Linked DNA regions of Homo sapiens: regions 1, 2, 3 and 4 are each linked to region 5. Evidence: promoter capture Hi-C in 16 types of primary human blood cells and fetal thymus (Javierre and others, 2016). All regions are on one chromosome and are shown on one strand. The core of a region is centred on a gene start or on the middle of the fragment in contact, and the rest is flanking DNA. Distances in the headings are between cores, read along the strand shown. Region 1 overlaps ZMAT3 (zinc finger matrin-type 3). Region 2 has its middle 9.6 kb from the start of ZMAT3. Region 3 overlaps ZMAT3 (zinc finger matrin-type 3). Region 4 has its middle 58 kb from the start of ZMAT3. Region 5 holds the start of MRPL47 (mitochondrial ribosomal protein L47).

Region 1 (2,700 bases), core at 93-2,592, 540 kb after region 5:
GCAAGTAATCAGAAAGTAGGAGCTTACAGAAAATGAAAAGTTTGGGTATAATAAAGTATATTGCTAAGACTTCAGAAGCAAAGATTCGAATGAGACTGATGTTATTGGTAACTCTTAAAGAGAGAAGGTTTTAACAGACAACTAAGGCAAAGCAGTTCATGTGTAAAAATACAGAGCAATTATGTTAGGGTAACATAGAAGAAAGGTAATCTTAGAAGTGAAATCTGGATTTCAATAAGATAGAAATGGTCAAGATGAGAGTGGATAGTGCAAAGTGTAGATCAGAATAATAAACAGAGTGTGAACATAACTCTAGAAGTGGGTGAGCTACCAAAGAAGGAAAGCGTAGAAATGTTAGCCAAAAAGATGCATCAGAGGGTGTACATGAATAAGCAGTAATAAAAGAAAGATTACTGAAGACAAGGCTAAGACCAGGCCAGGTGTGGTGCCTCACACCTGTAATTCTAGCACTTTGGGAGGCTGAGGCGGGAAGATAGTTTGCGTTCAGGAGTTCAAGACCAGCATGGACAGCATAACAAGACCCTGTCTCTACAAAAATACAAGGAAATTAGCTGGGCATAGTGGCAGACACTTGTAGTCCCAGCTACTCGTGAGGCTGAGACAGGAGGCTCACTTGAGCCTGGGAGATTGAGGCAGCAGTGAGCTATAATCATGCCACTGCACTCCAGCAAACAAAGACAACAACAAAAAACACACAAAAAAGAGAAGGATAAGACCAATGAGTAAGGCTTACCAAGCACAGGAATAAGTAGAATGCCAATGATTGTAGACTAATAAAGTGGTTTAGGATTAAATGAGATGATGGATGTAAAATTTTATTTCAAGACTAAAAACTTACTAATTTTTAATACAGAGCATTACCAAGCTGTACCTTCATTATTTCAGTTATGTGTGAGATAAAATGGGTCACGGGTAGCCTGTTTATGAGCTAGAAACACATTTGTGTGAAGTGATAAATCACTGTGATTACATTACTCAAAACTTTTTAGTCAGTTGATGCCATTGTTGAAATCGTGGAGTTTCAAATTGCCTCGGGTATTGTAAACAATGGTGGTTACACTAGAGCCGGACTGTATCATGTGCCAGTAATCCAGGACACGCAGTGGAAACTGCCCAATAAATACTTCCCTTTAAGCTCACTAGCATTTTTTCCTGACATCCCAGTGTTCCCAAGCTGGGGCTACCTTAGCAGTGACCCATGTGTATCTGTAGTCATCACAGATTTAGTTTTATTCCAAGGACTTTTAAAAACTGGTCAGTTGGCTTCAAAACATCATTAGCTATTGTTTTATTTTTAATGAAGCCATCAAATATTATATTCTTAAAATTAGGGCTTTGGATATAACTTAATTTAAAATCCAATCTTTGGAGGAGAAACATATTTTCATTTTATTAAAGTCTATCTGCAGGCTTCAGGTTACTTAGGGCAAGGCTGGCATGGGGTAACATACCACTGTTTCATCAGCATAAATGCCCAGAGGAAGAATTGCTTTAGCAGGGAAGGTTATTAACAGAAATAAAGAAAAGCAAAAAGCACGGATGAATTTTGCTAAGGCATCCACAGTTTAAAGTCACCAGTTTATTTGCTAATTTGCATGTATATATTTAAAAAGATCTACTTACTCAAAGTACATTTATAAAATTTGTCATAAACATGGCTTTCTATTTGTAATAGTTAGTGGCCAGATAGCAACCTACCATGAATTAGATTGATTAGAGAAAGAGAACACAGGTGAAAGAATAGTTTTAGAATTAGGATGCTGAGTGTAGTGGTCTTAATTCATAATTCATAATGAAGAGAATGCTATTAGATTTTTCCCAAAATTTAAAGCACTGATTTTGGCACTTACATTTTAATATTGATCACCCAGGTTTGGATCACTGAATTAAATCTCAGCTAATTTTCATGTATTCAAAATTCTCCTATCTGATTTTTTTCCAAATGGACTTGCAGTGGACTGAGAATGGCCAAAACACACTTCAGATTTGGTTTTAATGCATGTGCTTTACACGTGGCATATATGCTTTGGAATCTAACAACTTTGGGCTAGGATCTTGGCTCAGTTACTTTAGGCAAGACACTGAATCTCTCTTTATTCAATATCTGTAAAGTAGGGGTCATTGTACTTCCTCTGCAGGATTGTGAGACTTGCATATGTTATCTTAATAAATGCTGGTTGATTGAAATAGGTTGCTATTGTTTAGAAGTGTTTGGGTCTCAAATGAGCAGAATGAGATGGCACACAGCTGTCTTACTGTTGTTACTACCTTGATAGTAACTTGCTGTAGGACCTTGTGTAAATAAGCAAAACTTTGTTTTCCTTGATTGTTCTCCCGAGATAGTCTTTTAGATCCAGATACCAGGTTACCTTAAAAGATTCTCATGAAGAATAATTCAACCAACAAATGAGGCAAAATAAAATGATTTTCAAATGTAAATATGCTTTCAACCATACTACTCGTCTGTCAGCTTAGTCCATTTACCCAATAATCAATCCTTGTTGGTTTTCTTGTTCTGCTCTCTGAAATCGCCAGCTCTGTAGGCTTTTCTAGCTCTTGCTTTGATCACTTTAGAGGACAGAAGCTCTCTGTGATCCTGCCAGTTTTTTGCCTCCTCCTCTAGTCTACCCCTACCTCATTTCTTCTTATTTCGAAATGATAGATACCCTTTCTTTTGTC
Region 2 (2,700 bases), core at 22-2,521, 520 kb after region 5:
AGAAGGCCTTAAGTACCTGCATTCAAATTTGAATTCAGATGCTCAAATTCCAAAGTTTGTAATCCTTCCAATGAGTCACATTGCCTTAAATTCACTGTGATCTATGCTTTGCTACTCAAAGTGTGACATCACCTGGAAGCTTGTTAGAAATGCAGAATCACAATCCCAACGTCAGACTACTGAGACATTATCTGTACTTTAAAAAGATTGCCAGGTGATTCGCATGCATGTTCAAGTCTGAGAAGCTCTGATCTAGTAGAAACAAAGGTACAGGGAGATGTAAGCTGAATAACTTTGAACGGTAACCTAACATTTCAGAATCATCTCTAAAATAAGTAAAATAATATCTACCTCACTGGAATTATTGTGACTGAGAAAAGAAAAATATCTCAGAGCAGTCTGAGCTATGCAAGGTGTACAAAACTTATTAGGCCAAGAACAACATGAATATGGGACTTCAGTCATTCATGCGCTAACCCCCTTGTGCCTGGGGCAGTTATTTAAAGGCATTTGTTCCTGACTAGCTGCCTCACTCACTATCTCAATGTTCTGGAATTTGTGTTACAAAGAACAATGTATAGTCAAACAACAGCTTAAAATTTTTTTTTAGAGATGGTGTCTTGCTATGTTGCCCAGGCTGCTTTCAAACTCTTGGCCTCAAGGGATTCTGCCACTTCAGCCTCCCGAGTAGCTGAGATTATAGATGTGAGCCACTTCACTGGCTCTCATGTTTTGTAATGTAAATTCTTGGTAAACAACTTAGGAACTGCCTCTTCTGCTTTATAAGCCTACTTGTAACTGCTGCTAATTGGAACATATATTCAGGGCAACATGAATCTCTGCTCCCAGGTTGCAATCCTCAAACTTGCCCCAATTAAACTCTCTACTTATATTAAATTTGCATCATTTTTTTCTTTAGGTCAACATGAGGATGATATGAGCTAGGGTATAAAAGCCCTGGCTAGAGTACCTAGCTAGGGTATAGTGCCTGGCATAGTAGGCTCTTACTGTAGTATCCTTACATTCCAACATTAAATAAATGTATCATTCTTCTCGTTGTTGGACAGCACTGATAAACACATACACAAAATGATGCAGATAAGAATGTATGTATGCATAATGAACAAGCATTTCCTCAAAATAGTATTGTGACTGCAAGCGTAAAAGGTCAAAGGGAAATATGGTTTGATTTTCTTTGTCATAATGGGTATACAAAATTAAGTTCACACTAGCGATGTCAATGGCAAAGCAACAATGAAAGCTAACCAATTTGAATAAGAGACACAGAATTAAAACAAAAGTTAACTCTAGTAATTTTAGAAGTAGCAGAGAAGTTGTGTAGGTTGAGAGAGGGAAAAGAATATTGGATCAGAAAAGGAATACAGTTTTTAGGAAAGTTGCTAATTATTTCTACTGCTTTCAGATCATAAGACCTAAATTGGATAATCATATAACTCACAGGATACAGAAAAGAAATGTGATTGCTATTGTATTAAAAATATTCATTTTCTCTCTTGTATATTGATAGACCTGTCCACAAGGAAGAGTGTAGAATTTTAGCAATAGTACAAGTAGACAATAAAGTATTTTAAACACTTGAATATAATTCAAGACTTTGGTAATTTTTCTCTATGCCAGAAATATTACATAAAAGAAAATGCTTTTTTTTTTAGAATTTCATTAAATATTGTACATACAATGAAGAAAATCACAAAATGTTAGTGAAGAGCATGAAAGTCTTCAATCATTGTACAGTGGTAGGAAAGAGAATAGTGTAAAATTTTAACTTATCCACAAATGTATGTATAGATTTGACAAAATTCAATTGAAATCGCAATGGAAGTTGAGGAATTTGACAATGTGATTCTAAAGTTAATCAAGAAGTATAAACAACAAATACTAAGCAAGGAAAGTAAAAATAAAACAAACAAAAAACTAGGAATGAGAGATACACATTTTTAACGAAGTAATCTGTATACATAGTTTAAAGAGTCACAAAAAGGTAGGGGGACTTATATTAATCTCCGCCTAAAAAATTACCCCAAGCTGGCTGGGCACAGTGGCTCACGCCTGTAATCCCAGCACTTTGGGAGGCCGAGATGGGTGGATTGCCCGAGGTCAGGAGTTCAAGACCAGTCTGGCCAACATGGTGAAACCCTGTCTCTAATAAAAATACAAAAAAATTAGCTGGAAGTGGTGGCGGGTGCCTGTAATCCCAGCTACTGGGGAGGCTGAGGCAGAGGAATTGCCTCTGCTGAGGCAGAGATGGAGGTTGCAGTGAGCCGAGATCGCTCCATCGCACTCCAGTCTAGGTGACAGAGCGAGACACCGTCTCAAAAAACAAACAACCCCCCACCAAAAAAAAACCAAAAAACAAAAAACCCCAAAATTACCCTAAGCTTAGCAGTTTATAACAACATTCATTACCTCACATGGTCTCTGTGGTTAGGTCTCTGGGACTGATTTAATTGGATGGTTCTGATTCAGGGTCTCTCATGAGGTTGCAGTCAAGTCAGGAGGCGGCCATCTAAAGGCTTGACTGGAACTTGGACGATCTACTTCTAAGGTCACATGCCATGTGGGCCCCTCCAGAGGGCAGTTTCAGTGAGGCAAGGGTCTCTAAAAGAGCAAGCAGTTCGTCTTCACAAGTAGCTCTTTTAATAGGTTCACATTCTGATCTTTTAGGAGCAAAAATTTCCA
Region 3 (2,700 bases), core at 94-2,593, 570 kb after region 5:
TGTGGTATTTGTAGTATCCATGGAGAGAAGTGGAGTGATGTGGGATGTATTTTGAATGACAAGACTTGCTGATGGGTTGAATGTGTTGGGCTTAGGGAAGGATGGAATCAGGAAAAGGACCCCTTGGCTTTTCTTGGGTAATTTTGTGGATGGTGGTGCCATTTACCTACTGTGGATGACTAGTGGTGGTGGTGATGGTGGTGATGAGAAAGTTCTATGGAGGAGGAATCAAAAGTTGTTTTAAGTTGGATATGCCTCTTAAGACGTGAAAGTATGGATGACCAGGAGGAAGCTGGATATGTGGTTCTGAAGGTCAAAGATGGAGATTGATGATTTGGGGAGTCACCAACTTACTCATGGTATTTGAAAGCTATAGGTCTGGGTAGAATAACCTAGAGTCAGAGAATAAAAGAGGGCTAAGGGTGCGTCCTTGGACATTGTAGAGTTTAGAGGTCTGATAGAGGAGGAGAGGTGGGGAGGGAAGAAGGAGTATAGATGATAGTAGGAGGAATGTTTCAAGAAGGAAATGAACTGTGTCATGCTACTTTGAGTTCCAGTAAGATGAAGGCACATATGTGACCACTGGATTTGACTCTGGAGTTCACTGTGACCATGGTAAAAGCACCTTTAGGGTATTGAAGTGAGGAGAAGATGGATCTTAGTTCATTACTCTATTTAGCTGCTTAGGTATCTGTCTCCTCCTCTATGTGCTAGTCCTTAGTTTATTTCTAGGGCTTAGCATATAAATAGATGGTGAATAAATGTTTGCCTGCAGGTTTGAGTTTTACAATGCAGTTTAAAGAATAATATACTGTTTTACCCTTATTTAGAATGCTTTTGTACTATTGACCCTTGCCACTAGTTTGTGTCAGTTCAAGGAATATAATCATGTGACTAATAAAACGTGATGAGAAAGGCAAGTTGATGTTAGTAGAGGTTCCTAGTGCATCTTGAAGCCATCATGCTGTAGTGGAAAAGGGCCATTCTTTGATTTGGAAGGCCTGTCTCAGGCTTTGGCTGTGCTATTTAGCCCTTGAGAAGGGAGCTGGGGGCAAGCTCCTTACAGTCTCTGGATTGCAGTTCCTTGGCTGTCATAAATGGACAATATTAACAAATTCCTCTTACAAGATTTTTGTGAGCAGCAAATGAATAAATGCAATGAACATCCTTTGTAAGTAAAAAGATACTCTGTAAGGGCAATTTTAAAAGAATAATTGGATTATCCATTTCATTACTAACTTATAAAGTACATTAGATCAGAGTGTCATGAAATTCATATTTATCTGTGGCATATAAATGGCAAGAAGTTGGGTGAGGACATAAGTCACTGGAAAATGTGATACTTCTTTTTTTTTTTTCCTAAAATCCCATATTCTTTTCTTTTCTTTTCTTTCTTTCCTTTTTTTTAAAATTTTTTTAGTATTTATTGATCATTCTTGGGTGTTTCTCGGAGAGGGGGATTTGGCAGGGTCATAGGACAATAGTGGAGGGAAGGTCAGCAGATAAACACGTGAACAGAGGTCTCTGGTTTTCCTAGGCAGAGGGCCCTGCCGCCTTCCGCCTTCCGCAGTGTTTGTGTCTCTGGGTACTTGAGATTAGGGAGTGGTGATGACTCTTAACGAGTATGCTGCCTTCAAGCATCTGTTTAACAAAGCACATCTTGCACCGCCCTTAATCCATTTAACCCTTAGTGGACACAGCACATGTTTCAGAGAGCACGGGGTTGGGGGTAAGGTTATAGATTAACAGCAGCCCAAGGCAGAAGAATTTTTCTTAGTACAGAACAAAATGGAGTCTCCTATGTCTACTTCTTTCTACACAGACACAGTAACAATCTGATCTCTCTTTCCTTTCCCCACACTTCCCCCTTTTCTATTCGACAAAACCGCCATCGTCATCGTGGCCCGTTCTCAATGAGCTGTTGGGTACACCTCCCAGATGGGGTGGCGGCCGGGCAGAGAGGCTCCTCAATTCCCAGACGGGGCGGCCGGGCAGAGACGCCCCCCCACCTCCCAGACGGTGTAGCGGCCGGGCGGGGGCTGCCCCCCACCTCCTGGATGGGGTGGCTGCCGGGCGGAGACGCTCCTCACTTCCCAGATGGGGTGGCTGCTGGGTGGAGGGGCTCCTCACTTCCCAGACGGGGCGGCTGCGGGGCAGAGGGGCTCCTCACTTCTCAGACAGGGTGGCTGGTCAGAGACGCTCCTCACCTCCCAGATGGGGTGGTGGTGGGGCAGACACACTCCTCAGTTCCCAGACGGGGTCGCGGCCGGGCAGAGGTGCTCTTCACATCTCAGACGGGGCGGCGGGGCAGAGGTGCTCCCCACATCCCAGACGATGGGTGGCCGGGCAGAGACGCACCTCACTTCCCAGACGGGATGATGGCCGGGAAGAGGCGCTCCTCACTTCCCAGACTGGGCGGCCGGGCAGAGGGGCTCCTCACATCCCAGACGATGGGCGGCCAGGCAGAGACGCTCCTCACTTCCTAGACGGGGTGGCGGCCGGGCAGAGGCTGCACTGTTGGCACTTTGGGAGACCAAGGCAGGCGGCTGGGAGGTGGAGGTTGTAGCAAGCCGAGATCACGCCACTGCAGTCCAGCCTGGGCAACATTGAGCACTGAGTGAGCGAGACTCTGTCTGCAATCCCGGCACCTCGGGAGGCCGAGGCTGGCAGATCACTCGCGGTCAGGAGCTGGAGACCAGC
Region 4 (2,765 bases), core at 57-2,556, 590 kb after region 5:
TAGCAGTTTCTTGAGTCTTTTCCAGATAAAGTCTATGTAACGTGAATGGAGGCATTCCATCCCTACTGTTCTGTTCATCACCTTGGGGTATGTGTGTGTGTGTGTATGTGTGTGTGTGTGTGTGTGACCTTGGCAAGCATTCCATACCAGCACATGTGGATCTATTTCATTGTTTTTCATTCTGTGGTGTTTCCTTGTATGATTTCTAAAATTTCTGTTATTGATCCTCTATTGATGGACATTTATGTAATAATAATTTAAAAAAATTAAACCCTTAAAAATAGCAAAACATATAAAATTTACCATTTTAACCATTTAGTTTACAATCATAATCACTCTCCATCTCCAGAAATTTTTTATCTTCCCAAACGGAAATTTTACTCATTAAACAATAACTCCACATTCTCTCTTCCCCAGTCCCTGGTAACCACCATTCTACTTTCTGTCTCTATGATTTTGACTACTTGAGGTACCTCATATAAGTGGAATCATATGACAATTGTCCTTTTGTGTCTGGCGTATTTCACTTGGCATAATGTCCTCAAGGTTCATCCATGTCGTAGTATGTATCAGAATTTCCTTCATTTTTAAAAATTATTTTTAATTAGGGATATATAATATTGTACGTATTTATGGGGTACATGTGTCATTTTGATACAAACATTCAATGTGTAATGATCAAATCAGGGTAATTGGGGTATCTTATCACCTCAAGCATTTATCAACTTTCCTTCCTTTTTAAGGCTGAATAATATCCCATTGCATGTATCGATGACATTTTGTTTATTCATCCACTGATGGACACTTACGTTGCTTCTACCTTTTAGCTATTGTGAATAATGCTACTGTGACCATAGGTGTACATAGCTGAAGACTTGGAAAATTATAAATTATTTTATATATGCAAAGTGTATAAAAGTTTAATTTTTTTCACTGAAGCTTTGATAATTTGAGTCTGTAAAACAAACTGACCATGGATTAACAGGAAAAAAGGCATACAGATTTATTAATGTACATATGGGCATGGGAGTCATACAAAATATGAAAAACTCAAATGTCCAGACAGCTGATGCTGTAAACCAAAAAGTATCTGAGACAGATCTCAATCAACTGAGAGTTATTTTGCCAAGGTTGATGATACACCCAGGAAAAAAAGCCACTAGCCACAATAGAATCTGTGGCCCACACTTTTTTTCCAAAGAGGATTTTGAGTGCTTCCATATTTAAAGGGGAAAACATGGGCAGGAGAGAAAAGAAGTGTAGATGAAAGAGGCAAGAAGTTGCAATCTTTTGAAGATTTCATCAGCGTTCAGTGGATCCACATTTTACATGTGAAAGGAGAGGGTAGAGGCATTTGTCTCATGCTCAGTGAATCTACGTTTTTACATAAGATAAGTAAACAGAATAGAGGAAGCAGTCAAATATGCATTTGTCTCAGGTGAGCAGAGGTATGACTTCTGGTTCTATCCTTTGTCCCGTTCTTCTGAAGATAAATTGTTTGTTATTGTCAGGGTGAAATTCAACAGAACTGTTTTAGGGTAAGGATCTTGAGGGCCCACAAAAAATTTGCTCGTGAGCAAATTGCGAGGGAGGTATGTAGGTAGTCTTTCATCTTTGTAGCTGTTGAGGAACAAAATGGGAGGCAGTTTTGTGTGACTCAGTTCTCAAGCTTGACTTTTTCCCTTAGGTATGGTGAATAGGGGGTCCCAAAATTTTATTTTCCATTCACAACTCTTTAATACTATCTTGAGGTTACAGAAAGAATAGGGGCTTGAAGCTTGTCAAGACAGGTTATGGTGGCATGAGAGGTTATGGGAAGGAGAGAAGAGGCAAGGTGTGCTGCAAAGGTGGTCTTGTTATGCAGATGATCTCACAGGTAGCAGCCCTCAGAAAGGAAAAATGGGAGGCCAGGTACGGTGGCTCATGCCTGTAATCCCAGCACTTTGGGAGACCAAGGCAAGTGGATCACCTGAGGTCAGGAGTTCGAGACCAGCCTGGACAACATGGTGAAACCCCGTCTCTACTAAAAATACAAAATTAGCTGGGTGTGGTAGCGGGTGCTTATAGTCCCAGCTACTTGGGAGGCTGAGGCAGGAGAATAGCTTGAACCCGGGAGGCGGAGGTTGCAGTGAGCTGAGAGCACACCACTGCACTCTAGCCTGGGCGACAGAGCAAGACTCCATCTCAAAAAAAAAAAAAAAAAAAAAAAAGAGATGGGAGCCTGTGGTAGATGTTTCTATAAAACCTTTAAAGGTGTCAGGCTCTCAGTTAATCTTGCCTTGTTCTGGACAAGGTGGGGCTTCAGAAAAAGCCTGTTTGCATCTGTTGTTTACTTCACTTTATTTCCTCTAGAGATGCAAATCCCCGTAAAAGACTCAGCTTTGCAGGCTGATTCTTGTGTTGCAGGCCCTCTGAATAGTCATCTCAAAATATGTCAAAGAAGTATATTTTGGAGTGAAACATTTCTTAGTTTCCTTTAGTCCCCCACTTGAAACTTTAGAACGTTTCGCTTATTAATGTTTGGGCGCAGTGGCTCATGCCTGTAATCTCAACACTTCAGGAGGCTGAGGTGGGTGGATCGCTTGAGCCCAGGAGTTTGAGATCAGCCTGGGAAATATGGCAAAAGCCCATCTCTACAGAAAAAAAAAAAATAATTAGCTAGCCATGGTGGCACGTGCCTGTAGTCCCAGCTATTCAGGAGGCTGAGGTGGGAGGATCACTTGAGCCTTGAGGGGGAGGTTGGAGGATCACTTGAGCCTTGAGGG
Region 5 (2,810 bases), core at 246-2,745:
TGTCTCCAAGGAGGTCCAAATAGCCCTATTAAGACTGTATTGGTCAGGTGCAGTGGCTTACGCCTATAATCCCAGCACTTTGGGAGGCTGAGGTGGGCGGATCATTTGAGGTGAGGAGTTCGAGACCAGCCTGGCCAACATGGTGAAACCCCATCTCTACTAAATATACAAAAATTAGCCAGGCGTGGTGGTGTGCACCTGTAGCCTCAGCTACTGGGGAGGCTGAGGCGGGAGAATCGCTTGAACCCGGGGGGTGGAGATTGCAGTGAGCCAAGATGGTGCCACTGCACTCCAGCCTGGGTGACAGAGTGAGACTGTCTCAAAAGAAAAAAAAAAAAAGACTGTATTATGACTTTCCTGAGACCTAGGCACTTTTGCCTTCAAGGGCCCCTTCGTCTAAGTTATTAAAAATAATATTTTATGACTGCATTGGTATAAAACGAACATAATACAGGCTGGATTCGTTATCATATTCATAAACATTATGGTTTTTTTAAAAAAGAAATTTAAATTAAAAGACTTTCGTAGACCCCTAAAACTATCATGGGTTCAGGCAGGAGAATCGCTTGAACCCAGGAGGCGGAGGTTGCAGTGAGCCAAGATCGCGCCACTGCACTCCAGCCTGGGCAACAGAGTGAGACTCTGTCTCAAAAAACAAACAAACAAAACAAAACAAAACAAAAACCTCTCTTCCTCCCCAGTTCATCTGCATCTCATTATTGGGCGGCACGGTACTTACTGTGCCTAAAGAATAAGTTGGCCCTGAGCCTCTTTACCTGTCTACATATTACCTGTCTTCATATTCCTTAGCATAGGTGGGCTTCTCGGCAAGATGACTTTGCATCTGTGGGACTAGAACCTAGCCTTTGGGCAGGTGGAACGCAACAATAAGCTTGTGCCCTAGAGATACAGATCTCAGCTCTATACCTTTCTAGACTCAGCTTCATCCGCAAATTAGCATTAATTGGGATGGTGAATAACAACGTTTTAGAAATGCTAATAATGTAAACACGATCTATCTGGCTACTTCAGGAAAACCCCTCATATAGCTCGTGCTCCGTCTCTCCTGTCAAGCCCCAAGCCCACAACTTGTCCCGGCTCCCTCCGGATCCCACCAAGGTCACCCTGGAAGCGTCCTCCCTTTTCTCGCCCCGCACCCGCTTCACGCCCGTTCTCCCTAGGCCAGCACCCACCAGCAGCCTTCGGAAAGCCACGAGTGAGGAAGCCCCCAAATCCGAGGCGAGTGCCAAGGGGCCGGCCAGACAGAGCTGCCACCGCAGTAACCGAAACCCGCCGCAACAAACTCATGGCCGCCATGGCTACTACGGGCAGGAGGAAGAAGGGAGGCGGGTCACGGAAGCTGAGAGAGCCAATTTACCAATGAGGACAAAGGCAGGATGTGGCCATCTTAAGTGAGGGCAAGTTTTCTATTCTCCTCACCGCCGGCTTGAGACGCCGGAAGTGACGCTATCGTTGGCGGAAACGCGTTTTGCCAGTTATGCGAAAACATGGCTGCGGCCGGTTTGGCCCTTCTTTGTAGGAGAGTTTCATCCGCCCTGAAATCTTCCCGATCGTTAATAACTCCTCAGGTCCCTGCCTGCACAGGGTAAGTGATGTATAAAGTAGGTTTGCCCACCTCTCCAACTTTGGATCTTGTTTGGTTGCCGAGATGCCGAGATGCCGAGAACAACTCAAGAATGGAACGGCCGCCTGGATGGCAGAGCCGGAGCCCACTTTGGTGAGGAGTGAGTGACCTTGGAGAAGTCGCTCACCTCCGACATTTCTATTCCTTCCTCATTTTGTTGCTGCCTGCTGTGGACAAGACAGTATATGGGGTTTGTAGATGTCCAGCATTTGTTGAAGTAAATACATCTATAAGTACAGAAGCATCCTCTTGGGCTGGGTGAGGTGCGAAAAACTTTACCGAAGATGTTTTTGTTGTGATACTCAAGTCTGTGTCAAGTTTGGATGGATTAAAAAAGAAGAGATATTTGTATTTACAGGATGTGTTACAATGAAAGTAACTGGTAACTTAGTAACTTCTTTTATTTATTTATTTTTCTTGGTCCTGGATCCAGTGAAGTATCCATTTATTACATTGGTTGCCATGACTCTTTAGTCTCTATCCGGAACAATTTCTTTTTTTTTTTTTTCTTAATGTTGTTGACATTTTGATGAGATTAGCTTTTTAAGAATCTTATTCATTTGGATTTGTCTGATTGTTTCCTCATTATAAGATTTAGGCTAAATATTTTTGGTAGGGATACAACACTTGTGATAAACTTCATTATTTAGTTTCAAATCATCTCAGGTCGTTAACTATTTTTTAAAAACAGGATTTTTGAATTACTGCATAATAATTTATCATCCAGATGCACAGTAATTTTTAAACCATTCTTAGCTGCGTATTTACATAATTAAAAACTTGACATCCTATATAGTGCTTTAATAAACATCTTAATTTATAAATTCCCATCTATAATAATTTTTTCAGTTGAAACTTCTAGATGCAGAATTACTGAATTAAAGGAGGAAGTATTTGAGGCTCCTGATACATGTTGCAAAATTGTGAGGTTTTTTTGTTTTTGTTTTTTGAGACAGGGACTGACTCTGTCGCCCAGGCTGGAGTGCAATGGTGTGATCTCAGCTCACTGAAACCTCTGCCTCCCAGGCTCAAAGCGTCCTCCCACCTCAGCCTCCCGAGTAGTTGGGACTATAAGGCACGTGCTACTATGCCTGGCTAATTTTTGTATTTTTGTTAAAGATGAGGTTTTGCCATCTTGCCCAGGCTGGTCTTGAGCTCCTGGGCT

Evidence for each region. The method cuts DNA at HindIII sites, captures the fragments that hold promoters and counts their contacts. A CHiCAGO score of 5 or more calls a contact.
Region 1: a contact is called between a fragment that was not itself captured here and the fragment with the promoter of MRPL47 in region 5, in 1 of 17 cell types (non-activated CD4 T cells). The highest score is 5.1, in non-activated CD4 T cells.
Region 2: a contact is called between a fragment that was not itself captured here and the fragment with the promoter of MRPL47 in region 5, in 1 of 17 cell types (activated CD4 T cells). The highest score is 5.3, in activated CD4 T cells.
Region 3: a contact is called between a fragment that was not itself captured here and the fragment with the promoter of MRPL47 in region 5, in 3 of 17 cell types (activated CD4 T cells, fetal thymus and non-activated CD4 T cells). The highest score is 6.6, in activated CD4 T cells.
Region 4: a contact is called between a fragment that was not itself captured here and the fragment with the promoter of MRPL47 in region 5, in 7 of 17 cell types (fetal thymus, non-activated CD4 T cells, total CD8 T cells and 4 more). The highest score is 9.4, in fetal thymus.

What each region holds. Positions count from the first base shown.
Region 1 is chr3:179,062,465-179,065,164 of GRCh38, reverse strand. The region is part of intron 2 of ZMAT3 (zinc finger matrin-type 3); the gene reads left to right. Among named protein-coding and RNA genes, the nearest start is that of ZMAT3, 8.0 kb to the left of the region's middle. The HindIII fragment of the contact is 6,023 bases long and covers 1-2,700 here.
Region 2 is chr3:179,080,031-179,082,730 of GRCh38, reverse strand. No RefSeq gene overlaps it. Among named protein-coding and RNA genes, the nearest start is that of ZMAT3, 9.6 kb to the right of the region's middle. The HindIII fragment of the contact is 2,260 bases long and covers 142-2,401 here.
Region 3 is chr3:179,032,215-179,034,914 of GRCh38, reverse strand. All of the region lies in intron 2 of ZMAT3 (zinc finger matrin-type 3), which reads left to right. Among named protein-coding and RNA genes, the nearest start is that of ZMAT3, 38 kb to the left of the region's middle. The HindIII fragment of the contact is 8,661 bases long and covers 1-2,700 here.
Region 4 is chr3:179,012,039-179,014,803 of GRCh38, reverse strand. No RefSeq gene overlaps it. Among named protein-coding and RNA genes, the nearest start is that of ZMAT3, 58 kb to the left of the region's middle. The HindIII fragment of the contact is 730 bases long and covers 942-1,671 here.
Region 5 is chr3:179,603,323-179,606,132 of GRCh38, reverse strand. MRPL47 (mitochondrial ribosomal protein L47) reads left to right here and starts at 1,495. Exons shown (of 7, transcript NM_020409.3): 1 at 1,495-1,606. The coding sequence starts at 1,509. It overlaps NDUFB5 (NADH:ubiquinone oxidoreductase subunit B5), which reads right to left and starts at 1,339. Exons shown (of 6, transcript NM_002492.4): 1 at 1,194-1,339. The coding sequence starts at 1,317. RefSeq lists enhancers at 754-843, 874-1,033, 472-1,338, 1,214-1,413, 1,339-2,205. The HindIII fragment of the contact is 8,643 bases long and covers 895-2,810 here.